Regions from separate parts of the Homo sapiens genome. Here region 2 is linked to region 1. Evidence: promoter capture Hi-C in 16 types of primary human blood cells and fetal thymus (Javierre and others, 2016). All regions are on one chromosome and are shown on one strand. Each heading gives the region's core, a stretch centred on a gene start or on the middle of the fragment in contact. The rest is flanking DNA. Distances are from core to core; before and after follow the strand shown.

The links. Contacts are between HindIII fragments. The CHiCAGO score rates a contact against its expected background, and 5 or more counts as called.
Region 2: a fragment that was not itself captured here is called in contact with the fragment with the promoter of RNF125 in region 1 in 3 of 17 cell types (total CD8 T cells, naive CD8 T cells and activated CD4 T cells); the score reaches 6.5 in total CD8 T cells.

Annotation. Positions count from the first base shown.
Region 1 is chr18:32,014,513-32,020,588 of GRCh38, reverse strand. It overlaps RNF125 (ring finger protein 125), which reads right to left and starts at 1,764. Exons shown (of 6, transcript NM_017831.4): 1 at 1,562-1,764. The coding sequence starts at 1,725. RefSeq lists enhancers at 1,003-1,052, 697-1,569, 1,869-2,163, 1,570-2,442 and a silencer at 1,869-2,163. The HindIII fragment of the contact is 17,285 bases long and covers 1-6,076 here.
Region 2 is chr18:32,057,964-32,064,287 of GRCh38, reverse strand. The region is part of intron 4 of RNF125 (ring finger protein 125); the gene reads right to left. Among named protein-coding and RNA genes, the nearest start is that of RNF138, 31 kb to the left of the region's middle. RefSeq lists an enhancer at 6,084-6,324. The HindIII fragment of the contact is 699 bases long and covers 3,978-4,676 here.

The DNA.
Region 1 (6,076 bases), core at 515-3,014:
GGACTACCTAAATCCTTTCAAAAGTGGTCCTCAAAAACATGTTGTGCACTTGCATTCATAATAACGGTATTTCTTTCTTCCTGCTAAGCCAAATGCTGGTACAAGCCACTGTGGTATCACACATGGCTTCATCATACTATAGTCACCCTTCAAAGGACATTAAGTAGGCTTCCGCTCCTGATCTGTGCAGACACAACACACACACACGTATCCACGAAAAAAAATCAAAGCAAAGAGAGAAGGCTGGGTGCAGTGGCTCACACCTTTAATCCCAGCACTTTGGGAGGCCGAGGTGGGTGGATCAATTGAGGTCAGGAGTTCAAGACCAGCCTGGCCAACATGGTGAAACCCCATCTCTACTCAAAATTCAAAAACTAGCCGGGTGTGGGGGTGGGCGCCTGTAATCCCAGCAACTCGGGAGGCTGAGGCAGGAGACTCACTTGAGCCTGGGAGGCGGAGGTTGCAGTGGGCGGAGGTTGCAGTGAGCCGAGATAGCACCACCGCACTCCAGCCTGGGCGACAGAGCCAGACTACGTCTCTCTCTCTCTCTCTCAAACACACACACACACACACACACACACACACAGTAAACAGAGAGCACAAATTCACAGCTCCAACTCCACCAGTTATTCAAACACACATTAAGGATGTGCCAATTTTATATAGGGACTTTGTTTTTAAATTCTTCTTAGAAACGACCACGGCTTTGCACCAACTGTGAGTTTTAGCTAAGTACTATGCGGTTTTGAGAAAGTTATTTTACTCTGTAATTTCCGCCGGTTTGGAGAGACCGTGCGTAAAGCAGGTAGCCTGCCACCTCCTGTTACGTTGTGGCTGGGTTTTGAAGGAGTACATTCAGGGGCTTGGCGGCTAACGTCCAAGCCCCACCCTAGCAGGTTGTTAAACTCTAACAACTGTGGAAAGTCACTCGGAAGCTCCAGTTTGACTTGCCCTTTGAGGGGCTGGGTGTCTGTGTTGGGAAAGGGTAGCAGGGGTGGGGGTGGAAAGACACTTTGCACAGATCCTTGTTTGCTTAAGACGAGCCTCTGTGGGCATTCTGGGAACACGTGCACAGCTCCAGCAAAACAAAACGGACCCGGGTTTCTGGGGCAGAGGGAAGCGCAGCCCGTTCTACCGTGTTCAGCGGGGTAACTGCGCTTTGCGGGAGCCCCTGCCTTGTAGCTGGAGCTCGTTTCCTTTCCGTGCCTGGGCGAGCGCTGGTTCTCCAGCCAAGAGCACCCTCCCCAGTTGGCGAGCCCTGGCTCTGGGCGGGACCCGTGCCTGGATCCCCTTCTCTGGAGTTCCGCACCTGGGCTTCGGGAGCTGAAAGCGCAAGGGGGCTACAGGACCCGCTTGTTTATTTTTTCTCCTCCCGAAATCCTGTGTCACCTTCCGACCCGCGTTTTCCCCGTGGTCCTGCATCCGACGGGTCCAGGTTTCTCCCTGCAGCAATTTCCTAAGAGGCTGTCTTCCGTCCCCCTCCTTCCCCACACCATGCCCTCAGCTTCCCCACATCGCCCTCCTTAGGGGTGGGCGCAAACCGAGCTCCCCTGGAACTTACACGTGGCCACAGCGGGTCCGGACAGGCTGGTGTAACACCTCAAGGCACACGGCGCAGTCGAAGGACGTGACGGGCAACTCCGGGTCCCTCCTGCGCTCCAGGGCCCGCGCGGTGGCAGAGGCGGGCGCCGATTTGCCGCTGTCGGTGCTCAGCACGGAGCCCATCGCTGTGCCTCTCGCCCAGACAGCTGCGAAGCACTCAGTGCCTGCCGCAGGGTTGTTTTGTTGCCGTGCGGTGGAGGAAGGAAGTCCCGGCCCAGCTGCGATCGCCGCCTCCCAGCTCTCCCAGCTCGCGCAGCCCAGAAGCCACCTCCGCCGCTGCGCCCAACCCTGGTCTAGGGCAGGGCGAGCGCGCGGCCGCGGGGCTGAGATCTTCGGCAAGCCGCCTAGGTTAAGGCGCGGAGGCGGAGGCGGCAGCCGCCCCGTGCTCTGTCTTGTGGTATTGGGAGGATTGAAACCTGAAACCTCAACTGCAGAGAAGAGGACTTGAGGCAGCAGTAAACCTTCCAAGCTATCACACACAGCTGCTTTCCCCACTGTCAGAAGTTAAGTGCGGGCGTGGCCATGCTTAATGATAATCAGAGAACAGCCGCTTTTAAGGTGAAGTGGAAGACCATCCTCCACTGTTGTCATCACAATAAGCTGCAAAAATGACCTATGACCTATGATTGGGCGTCTCCTAAGACGGTGCTATCGCTACTCTGTCATCCAATCAATAGTCCATTAATGGAGAGATAGCCTGGGTAGTGGAAAGAGTCCTGGAGATTAGGATTCCAATCTTACCTCTCCTACAGAGATTCTAGTGCTAAACCCTGCCATCTCCAGTTTCCTCTGCGGCTCAGGATTTCCTCTGTTGTTTGTACGCTCCCCACCCCGCCCTTTAAACATGATCAGCCAGGCGCGGTGGCCCACGCCTGTAATTCCAACACTTTGGGAGGCCGAGGCGGGCTTGAAACTCCTGCTTGAGGGCAGGAGTTCGAGACCAGCCTGGCCAACATGGTGAAACCCCGTCGCTGCTAATAATACAAAAATTAGCCGGGCGTTAATTTACACTTTTTACGAAGACTTATTTAGTGCCCACTGCACGCCAGACTCGGTTCTAGTGATGAAGACACAATCGTCAACAAGCAAACAAAATCCCAGTTCTCACAGAACTTACTTTAAAAAACAAAAACAAAACTTTGAGATAATTATAGATTCACATACAGTTGTAAGAATAGTACATAGTATATAATACACATATACAATAATATATAATATAACACATGGGATATAATAACGCATATAATACATGTACGTATTTAGCAGGCCATAAACTTCACCCAGGCTTTACTTTTAATTAGGAGATATAGGCCGGGTACCGTGGCTCACGCCTGTAATTTCAGCACTTTGGGAGGCTGAGGTGGGAGGATCACTTGAGCACGGGAGCCAAGATCACACTACTGCACTCCGTCCTGTGCGACAGAGTGAGACCATGTCTCAAAAAACAAACCAAGCCGGGGCAGTGGCTCACGCCTGTAATCCCAGCACTTTGGGAGGCAAGAAGGACAGATCACCTGAGGTCAGGAGTTTGAGACCAGCCTGGCCAACATGGTGAAACCCTGTCTCTACTAAAAATACAAAACTTAGCTGGGTGTGAGCTACTTGGGAGGCTGAGGCACAAGAATCGCTTGAACCGGAAAGGTGGAGGCTGCAGTGAGCCGAGATCATGCCACTGCACTCCAGCCTGGGCAACAGAGGGAGACCCTGTCTCAAAAAACCAAAACAGGCTGGGTGCAGTGGCTCACGCCTGAAATCCCAGCAATTTGGGAGGCCGAGGCAGGTGGATCACAAGGTCAGGAGTTCAAGACCAGCCTGGCCAACATAGTGAAACCCCGTCTCTACTAGAAATACATTTCTTTAGTAAAAATTTTTGTACTAAAAATACAAAAATTAGCCAGGTGTGGTGGCACATGCGTGTAGTCCCAGCTACTTGGGAGGCTGAGGCAGGAGAACCACTTGCACCCAAGAGGTGGAGGTTGCAGTGAGCCGAGACCATGCCACTACACTCCATCGTGGGTAACAGAGCGAGACTCTGTCTCAAAAACAAACAACAAACAAAAGGAAGATACATGTAATCAATCCATAAACAAATGAACAAAATCATTTCAGATAATCAGAGCCATGAAGAAGATAAAACAGTAAATGGCAATGAGGAGAAGAATAAGCTCAGAGAAGAATTTTTGGATGAAGTGACATTTGAGCAGAGCCATGAATAATGAAAAGAAGTGAGCCATTCAAAGATTTAGGAAAAAGCGTGGACTGGGAACAGTGAATGAGGCAGAACCAAAGAAAGGAAAGACCTATGGAGCTGGAGCATGGGTGGTGGGGGGCAGGCGGTGGGGGGGGGGAAATAAGATGAAAAGGTAGTTATTCCCATCTTCAAAAGGAAAACAAAAACCTCCCTTTCATCCCACTTATGCCTCAACTCCTGCCCCATATCCGCTTCAAGGCCAAATCTCTTGATCTGATCCTCTACATTTTGTCATCATTTCTTAATTATTCACTTCTTATTCAGTCCAGTCTGGGTTCTGAACCAACCTCTCCACCTCCATCTGTCCAAAAACTGCTTTATTATCAGTGTCACTGGTGACGTTCATGTAACTAATTCCAATAGATTCTTTTCAGCTATTTTTTTTGCTTGACCCCTCAACTATGTTTGTTAGTGCTGACCATCCCCTCCTTCTGGAAACACTCTGACTTTCCCTCTTTCTTTCTGGCTATTGTTTCTTCTCCCTTGCCAGAGTCTCCTTCTCCACTGGCTCTGGGCTGGAGATCCTAGGATTCTGTCTTAGGACCTTTTCCCTTCTCCTCTCTCTCTCTTTCTCTCTTTCTCTTTCTCTCAAAAATCACACAGGTTCTGTCACTATTTCGGTTCCAAAAACTTTCACATCTTTATCTCTACCCCAGGCCATTCAAATGTCCAATAGCCTAATAGCTTACATGACTGACCATTTGACATAAACACCCTCAGCCCAATGTCTCCAATAATGAACTCATTATAGTAGCAGCCTCCTCCAGTGGTTGATCTCTCTTTTAGCAAATGGCACTATGATCCACTTTATAGCTCAGTCTAGACACCTGGAAGTCATCCTTGATTTCTTCCTCTTCCTCATTCACATTGAATCAAGCATAATCACAATCCTGCCTCCAATATGTATCTCAGTAGTTCTTTTTTTTCTGAGATGAAGTCTCTCTCTGTCGCCCAGGCTGGAAGTGTGCAGTGGCGCAATCTCAGCTCACTGCAACCTCTGCCTCCTGGGTTCAAGTGATTCTCCTGCCTCAGCCTCCTGAGTAGCTGGGATTGCAGGCGCATGCCACCACACCCGGCTAATTTTATTATATTTTTGGTAGAGACGGAGTTTCACCATGTTGGCCAGGCTAGTCGTGAACTCCTGACCTCATGATCCGCCTGCCTTGGCCTCCCAAAGTGCTGGGATTACAGGCGTGAGCCACCATGCTCATTTTCTTCTATTTCCATAGCCACCGCTTATTTTAAATCACTGCATTCTCTTGTGTGACTTAATGGCAGTAGTTCCTAACTGCTCTACCCGCATCCATCATTGCCTCTCTCCAGTTTATTATCCACATGGCAACTAAAGTGATCTTTTGAAAAGCAAACATCTTGTGTCACCCCATGCACAAAATCCTTTAATAGCTCTCCTAATCCTTAGGATTAAATTCCAAATCCTTAATATTATCTAAAAATTCCTGCAAGACTTACTTTTGATGGCAGGAATCAGAAATTCAACTAAAAGTGCCTCGTTCAGTAAGGATATTTATTATCGACCAGCTCAGTGGCTTACACCTGTAATCCCAGCACTTTGGGAGGCAGAGGCAGGCTGATCATGAGGTCAGGAGTTCGAGACCAGCCTGGCCAACGTGATGAAACTCCATCTCTAATAAAAATACAAAAATTAGCCGGGCATGGTGGCACACACTTGTAAGCCCAGCTACTCAGGAGGCTGAGGCAGGAGACTCGCTTGAACCCAGGAGGTAGAGGTTGCAGTGAGCCAAGATCATGTCACTGCACTCTAGCCTGGGGCAACAGAGCAAGACTCTGTCTCAAAAAAAAAAAAGATATTTATTATCGAATATGGCAAACTAGTCCAGGTGTAAACAGTTCCAGAGATGTCTCAGCAGCTCAATTATGTCCTCACAGCCTCAGCCCCTTGCCATCCTCAGCATGTCTCCCTTATGGCTGAAACAGTCAATTCTATACACAACCTCCAAAAACAAAAAGGAAAGGGTAAGATTTCCCCCTTGTAGCTCTCTCTTCTTTTACATGGGAGAAAAACGCTTCCTAGAGGCCTTCCTCTGCAGGCTTCCCTTCCTATCTAATTGGTCAAAATTGGGCACCATTGCCATCCTAAATCAGTCACTAGCAAAAGAGAATGGGAGCACTCTGATTGGCTTAAACTTATTATTTATTCCATAGGACTTGGCACCTCAGCTCTCTGAAACAACATAAATAGGG
Region 2 (6,324 bases), core at 3,078-5,577, 41 kb before region 1:
AATCCCTGGGCGCCGTGGCTCATGCCTGTCATCCCAGCACTTTGGGAGGTGGATCACTTGAGGTAGGAGTTCATGACCAGCCTGGCTAACATGGCAAAACCCATGTCTACTAAAAAGACAAAAAAATTAGCCAGGCGTGGTGGTGCACACCTGTAGTCCTGGCTACTCCAGAGGCTGAGGCAGCAGAATGGCTTGAACCCAGGAGGCAGAGGTTGCAGTAAGCCGAGATCGCACCACTGCACTCCAGCCTGGATGACAGAGTGAGACCCTGTCTCAAAAAGAAAAAAAAAAGGACTTGATGGATTAAAAAAAAAAAAAAGATACAGACCATTCTGTCACTGCAAAGGAATGTCAGTGCGTTGCTATCCTTTATTTCCTTCTCTCTCCCTAACCTCTGCTCTGTTCCCCATATTATTATTATTACTATTTCGAGAAACTTATATAAATAGAACTATACAGTATTTAACCTTTTGAGATTGGCTTTTCCCATTGAGCATGACTTTGAGATCCATCTAAGTTGCTGGGTGTATCCATAGCTCCCTCCTTATTACTGAGTAGTATTTCATGTATGGATGTCCCACAGTCTGCTTATCCATTTATTTTGTAAAGGGCATTTGGGTTGTTTCCAGTTTTTGGTTGTTAAGATAAAGCTCCAAGAAATATTTGTGTACAAATGTTTGCATAAACATTAAGTTTTCATTTCTCTAGGATAAATTTTCAGGAGTGTGATTGCCTGGTTATATGATAAGTATATGTTTAACTTTGTAAAATATTGCCAAACTGTTTTCCAGAGTGGCTGTACTATTTTACATTCCCACCAGCAATGTATGAATTATTCAGTTTTTCTTTATTTTCCCCAACATTTGGTATTGTCCAAATTTTTTTATTTGAGCCATTTTGTTAAACGTGTACTGGTATCTCACCATGGTTTTAATTTGCACTTCTATGATGGCTAATATAAATAACTCTTTTAACATATATTACTTTATCACATTTTAACAAAGGTTCACTTTTTTAAAATTATATTTATTCATGTATTCTTCTTTTTTTTTTTTTTTTTGAAATGGAGTTTTGAGTTTTGCTCTTGTTGCCCAGGCTGGAGTGCAATGGCATGGTCTTGGCTCACTGCAACCTCCGCCTCCTGGGTTCAAGCAACTTTCCTGCCTCAGCCTCCCAAGTAGCTGGGATTACAGGCGCCCACCACCATGCCCAGCTAATTTTTGTATTTTTAGTAAAGACAGGGTTTCACCATTTTGGCCAGGCTGGTCACGAACTCCTGACCTCAGGTGATCTACCCACCTCTGCCTCCCAAAGTGCTGGGATTACAAGCATGAGCCACCCCACCCGGCCCATGTATTCATTTTTTAAAGTATGAGATGCAGACTTATTACTGAGTGCCAAGTATGTGTTGTTAGGTAGTAAATTAGGTAGTATTCTCATTTGATCCTCACAACAACTCAGTGAATTAATTGCTATCCTTATTTTGTTGATGAGCCCAATTTCAGAGAGAAAAAAAAATAGCTTGAATTTACTCAGCTGTAAGTATCAGATCTGGAATCAATGTCGCTGATCCTCCAATGTTCTTTTCACATTCTAACAGTGTCCAATTTATCAACTTGGGTGATAATGTTTTTCTTTATTTAAATGAGGTCTTTATATATTTCTTTTCTTTCTTATTGTTTTATGAGGATCTCAGTTTCAATATGCTCAATTTCTATAATTAAAGGTCTATTTCTGAATTTTGCTCAACTTCGCTAATTTTTACATCTTATTTTTAGTAAAATTACATCCTTTTAATTAATTATTGTTGAATTATAATCATTTACAATTTCCTAATGTTCTTGGTTAATTGGCACTACTGGTCATTCCAAGACAGCATTTAATTTTCCCTGATGCCACTATGTATAATGAGAACAGAGCTGAGACCAAGAAATATTTCAACAAAAGAGCACTATTAATATTTGTAGTGTGGGAGAAGGAACCTGCTTATAGAAATTTGTTCATCCAACACTCTTTATTATGCCCCTACTACGTGTTCCGCACTTAGAATATAGAGATCAGTAGGATACTTTGAAGTTAGATACTTTGGGTTCAAATCCTAGCACCAGCAGTGTGATCTTGAGCATATAAGTTTCCCCTTCTGTGAAATGGAGATAATAACACCTGCCTTGTAGAGTAGCTGTAATATTTACAGATAATGTCTTCAGTGTGCCAGGTAAACATCAAACATTCAATAAATGCCACATATTTACTACTATTTGATCCCTGTCCTTGAAGAGTTGGGGCTCCCTGAGGGAAGAAACTACCATGTGTCTAGTTGATCCCTACATTCTTAGTACCCAGAAAATAGTTTCCGATTTCATTTCAGCCTCTCGCTGATGTTCTGTGTCTCAGAGCTGTTAGATTTAAAATAATACACCATTTACTATTATAAAGCTCAGTCATTATATTAGCTCAGTCTTTAGCTGCCATTATTATCACTTAAGCAGATACTTTCAATAGTGTATCAAGTGCCATACTCAAGATGTGAACAGACAACTGTTCAAGATCTGTAAAGGGAATTACTAATTTTGCCCAAGGGTTCGGAAAGGCTCCAGCAGAGCTGCTGGTAACTGAAGTGGGTCTTGAAGAATGAGCCAGCCAGGCCAGCAGGGAGGAGCATCACAGCAGAGGAATCAACGTGGGAAAAGGCAGTAAATCCTAAAAGAAAGAGGCCTGCTTAGGGCAATGGAAAAACCTCAGTGTAACTGAAGGTAGGGAAAGTTGGGGAAGTGGTAGGGGATGAGTTTGGAATGATAAGTTGGAACTAGCTCTGCTCCATATTTATTCAAGCACCTGACATGGTTTTGGTAGACTTGATGCAAGGAGTCAGAGGTACAGAGATGTCTGTTACCTTGGTCCCTACCAATAAGGAGCTGATTAGAGTCTAGTGGAGAAGACAAATACAGAAAACCTGGAATTTTAGGCCAGGCACGGGGGCTCACGCCTGTAATCCCAGCACTTTGGGAGGGCAAGGTGGGCGGATCATGAGGTCAGGAGATCGACACCATCCTGGCTAACACGGTGAAACCCTGTCTCTACTAAAAATACAAAAAATTAGCCGGGTGTGGTGGCGGGTGCCTGTAGTCCCAGCTACTTGGGAGGCTGAGGCAGGAGAATGGCGTGAACCCAGGAGGCGGAGCTTGCAGTGAGCCGAGATCGCACCACTGCACTCCAGCCTGGGCGCCAGAGCAAGACTGTCTGAAAAAAAAACTAGAATTTTAAGCAAACAAGATTTTGTTTTGTTTTGTTTTTGAAACGGGATCTCACTTTGTTGACCAGGCTGGCCTTGAACTCTCAGATTCCAGAGATTCTCCTGCCTCAGCCTCCTGAGTAGCTAGGATTACAGGTGCAAGCCATTGTTAGTCTGACGTTAATAGGCAACTAGTGGAGTCTTCAGTCTCTGGTCAACATAAAATTTAATTGTGTGACTAAAGACACATCTGTCAAAACGACATTGCAAAACAATGGGCTGAAGTCGGTACTAGTGGAAAAACTTCTTTTGTTTCTTAAATTGGGAGATTAAACCTGAGGGAAGAGAGGGTAAGAATAGGAAGGAGAAAGAAATGGTAGGTGAGAGACAGACTGAAGATTACCTAAGTATTGACTTATACTCAATGTTGTCCATTTCCTAACATCAGCTCATCCTTTCTTACTTGTCTCTACTCAATGCTCCCAGGCTATACTACTTATATTAAGAGCCAACAACTATACAGTGTACATTCAAAATATGCTGGCTTCATCTCTGTATGGGCTTTTTCTGATGGTGAATGCAATGGGCAAATAATAGCTACCATATTAGAAGCTACTACCAACTTCAAAGAATTGAAAACTGTTTCTAAGATTAGCCTCCCACTTACTAGACATGGTGATATTATCATGTCCTTATGCTCCCACCAACCCACCCGCAACAATGACAGGTCTTTAGTGGATAAGCTTACAGCCCATTCACTGTGCAGGCCAGTGTGTCAGGGACCGGACATCTGCCTGTCCTGATTTGTGACCTGGCAGCTTAGAAGAGCTTCACCTCATCCTACTGATGCCTTCAGTTGATCCCCTTAGCCCTGTGGTTTCTATTTCCTGGCCTTGAGCATGTTGACTCCAAATAGGCCCTTTCTATGCAATGAATCTTCATTTATTGTTCTTTCTTTTCAAGAAACCATAAAGCCAAAAATAACCAAAATCATTGAGTAGATTTTCTCTACCTTTGTTTTACAAATGACCAAATTGAGGACCAAAGAAATCCTCTTGCTAGGAAAAGGGGAAAGATCTCCTGACCAAGGCTGCTTTAATAGGATTGAAACAAAACAACACTTGATGTGGGTGGAAACAGATGTTTCTTTCCATTTTTGATCAGATGAGGAAGATTCTTTTGAAAGGATAATTATTCCTCTAAATCCTTAGGATATAGATTATTCAATGCTGGTCAAGATAGTATCAAATTAAAAAAAAATAGTCAAAATCAAATCAAAATGGATTAAAAACTTGAATCTAAGACCTCAAACTATGAAACTACTAAAAGAAAACATTGGAGAAACTCTCCAGGACATTGATCTGGGCAAAGATTTCTGGAATAATACCCCACAAACACAGGCAACCAAAGCGAAAATGGACAAATGGAATCACATCCAAAAGCTTCAGCACAGCAAAGGAAACAATCAATAAAGTGAAGAGACAACCCACAGAATGGGAGAAAATATTTGCAAACTCCTCATCTGACAAGGGATTAATAACCAGAATATATAAGGAGTGCAAACAACTCTACAGGAAAAGAAATTAGTAATTCAATTTAAAACAGGCAAACGATTTAAACAGACATTTCTCAAAAGAAGACATATAAATGGCAAATAGGCATATGAAAAAGTGCTCAGCATCATTGATCATCAGAGAAATGCAAATCAAAACTACAATGAGATATCATCTCACCGCAGGTAAAATGGTTTTTATCCAAAAGTCACACAATAACAGATGCTGACGAGGATGTGGAGAAAAGGGAAACTTCATACACGGGTGGTGGGAATGTAAATTAGTACAACTACTACGGAGAAGAATTTAGAGGTTCCTCAAAAAACTGAAAATCAAACTATCATATGATCCAGCAATCCTACTCCCAGGTATATTCCCCAAAGAAAGGAAATCAGTATATTCAAGAAATATCCGCACTCCCATTTTTATTGCAGTACTATTCAGAATAGTCAAGATTTGGAAACAACCTAAGTGTCCAGCAACAGACAAGTGGGTAAAGAAAGCATGGTACATATGGAGTACCATTCAGTCATAAAAACGAATGAGATTTTGTCATTTGCAACAACATGGATGGAACTGGAGGACATTATGTTAAGTGAAATAAGCCTAGCACAGAAAGACAAACTTCACATGTCCTCATTTATTTGTGGGAGCTAAAAATTAAACCAATTGAACTCATGGAGATAGAGGGTAGAATGATGGTTACCAGAGGCTGGGAAGGGTAGTGGGGATTGGGGGAAGTGGGCATGGTTAATGGGTACACAAATATAGTTAGATAGAATGTATAAGATTTAGCATTTCATAGCACAACAGGGCAATTAAAGTCAACAATAATGTATTGTACATTTAAGAGTATAGGCCAGGCACAGGGGCTCACGCCTGAAATCCCAGCACTTTGGGAGGCCAAGGTGGGTGGATCACCTGAGGTCAGGAGTTTGAGACCAGCCTAACCAACGTGGTGAAACCCTGTCTCTACTAAAAATACAAAAATTAGCTGGGTGTGGTCACATGAGCCTGTAGTCCTAGCTACTTGGGAGGCTGAGGCAGGAGAATCCCTTGAACCTGAGAGGCGGAGGTCACAGTGAGCCAAGATCGCACCACTGCACTCTAGCCTGGGCGACAGAACGAGACTCCCTCTCAAAAAAAAAAGAGTATAATTGGATTGTTTGTAACACAAAGAAAGGATAAATGCTTAAGGTGATGGGTATGCCATTTACCCTGATGTGATTATTACACACTGCATGCCTGTATCAAAGTATTTCATGTGCCCCATAAATATATACACCTACTATGCATCCACAAAAATTGAAAGTACATATATGGTCATACTTCTCACTTGCCCTTTAATTTTTTTTTTTTTTTTTTTTTTTAGAGATGGGGTCTCACTCTGTCACCCAGGCTGGAGTGCAATGGTATGATCATGGCTCACTGTAACCACAAACTCCTGGCTTTAAGTAACCCTCCCACTTTGGCCTCATAAAATGCTGGGACTACTGGCATAAGCCACGGTGCCTGGCCACTTTAGCGCTTTAAAGGAAG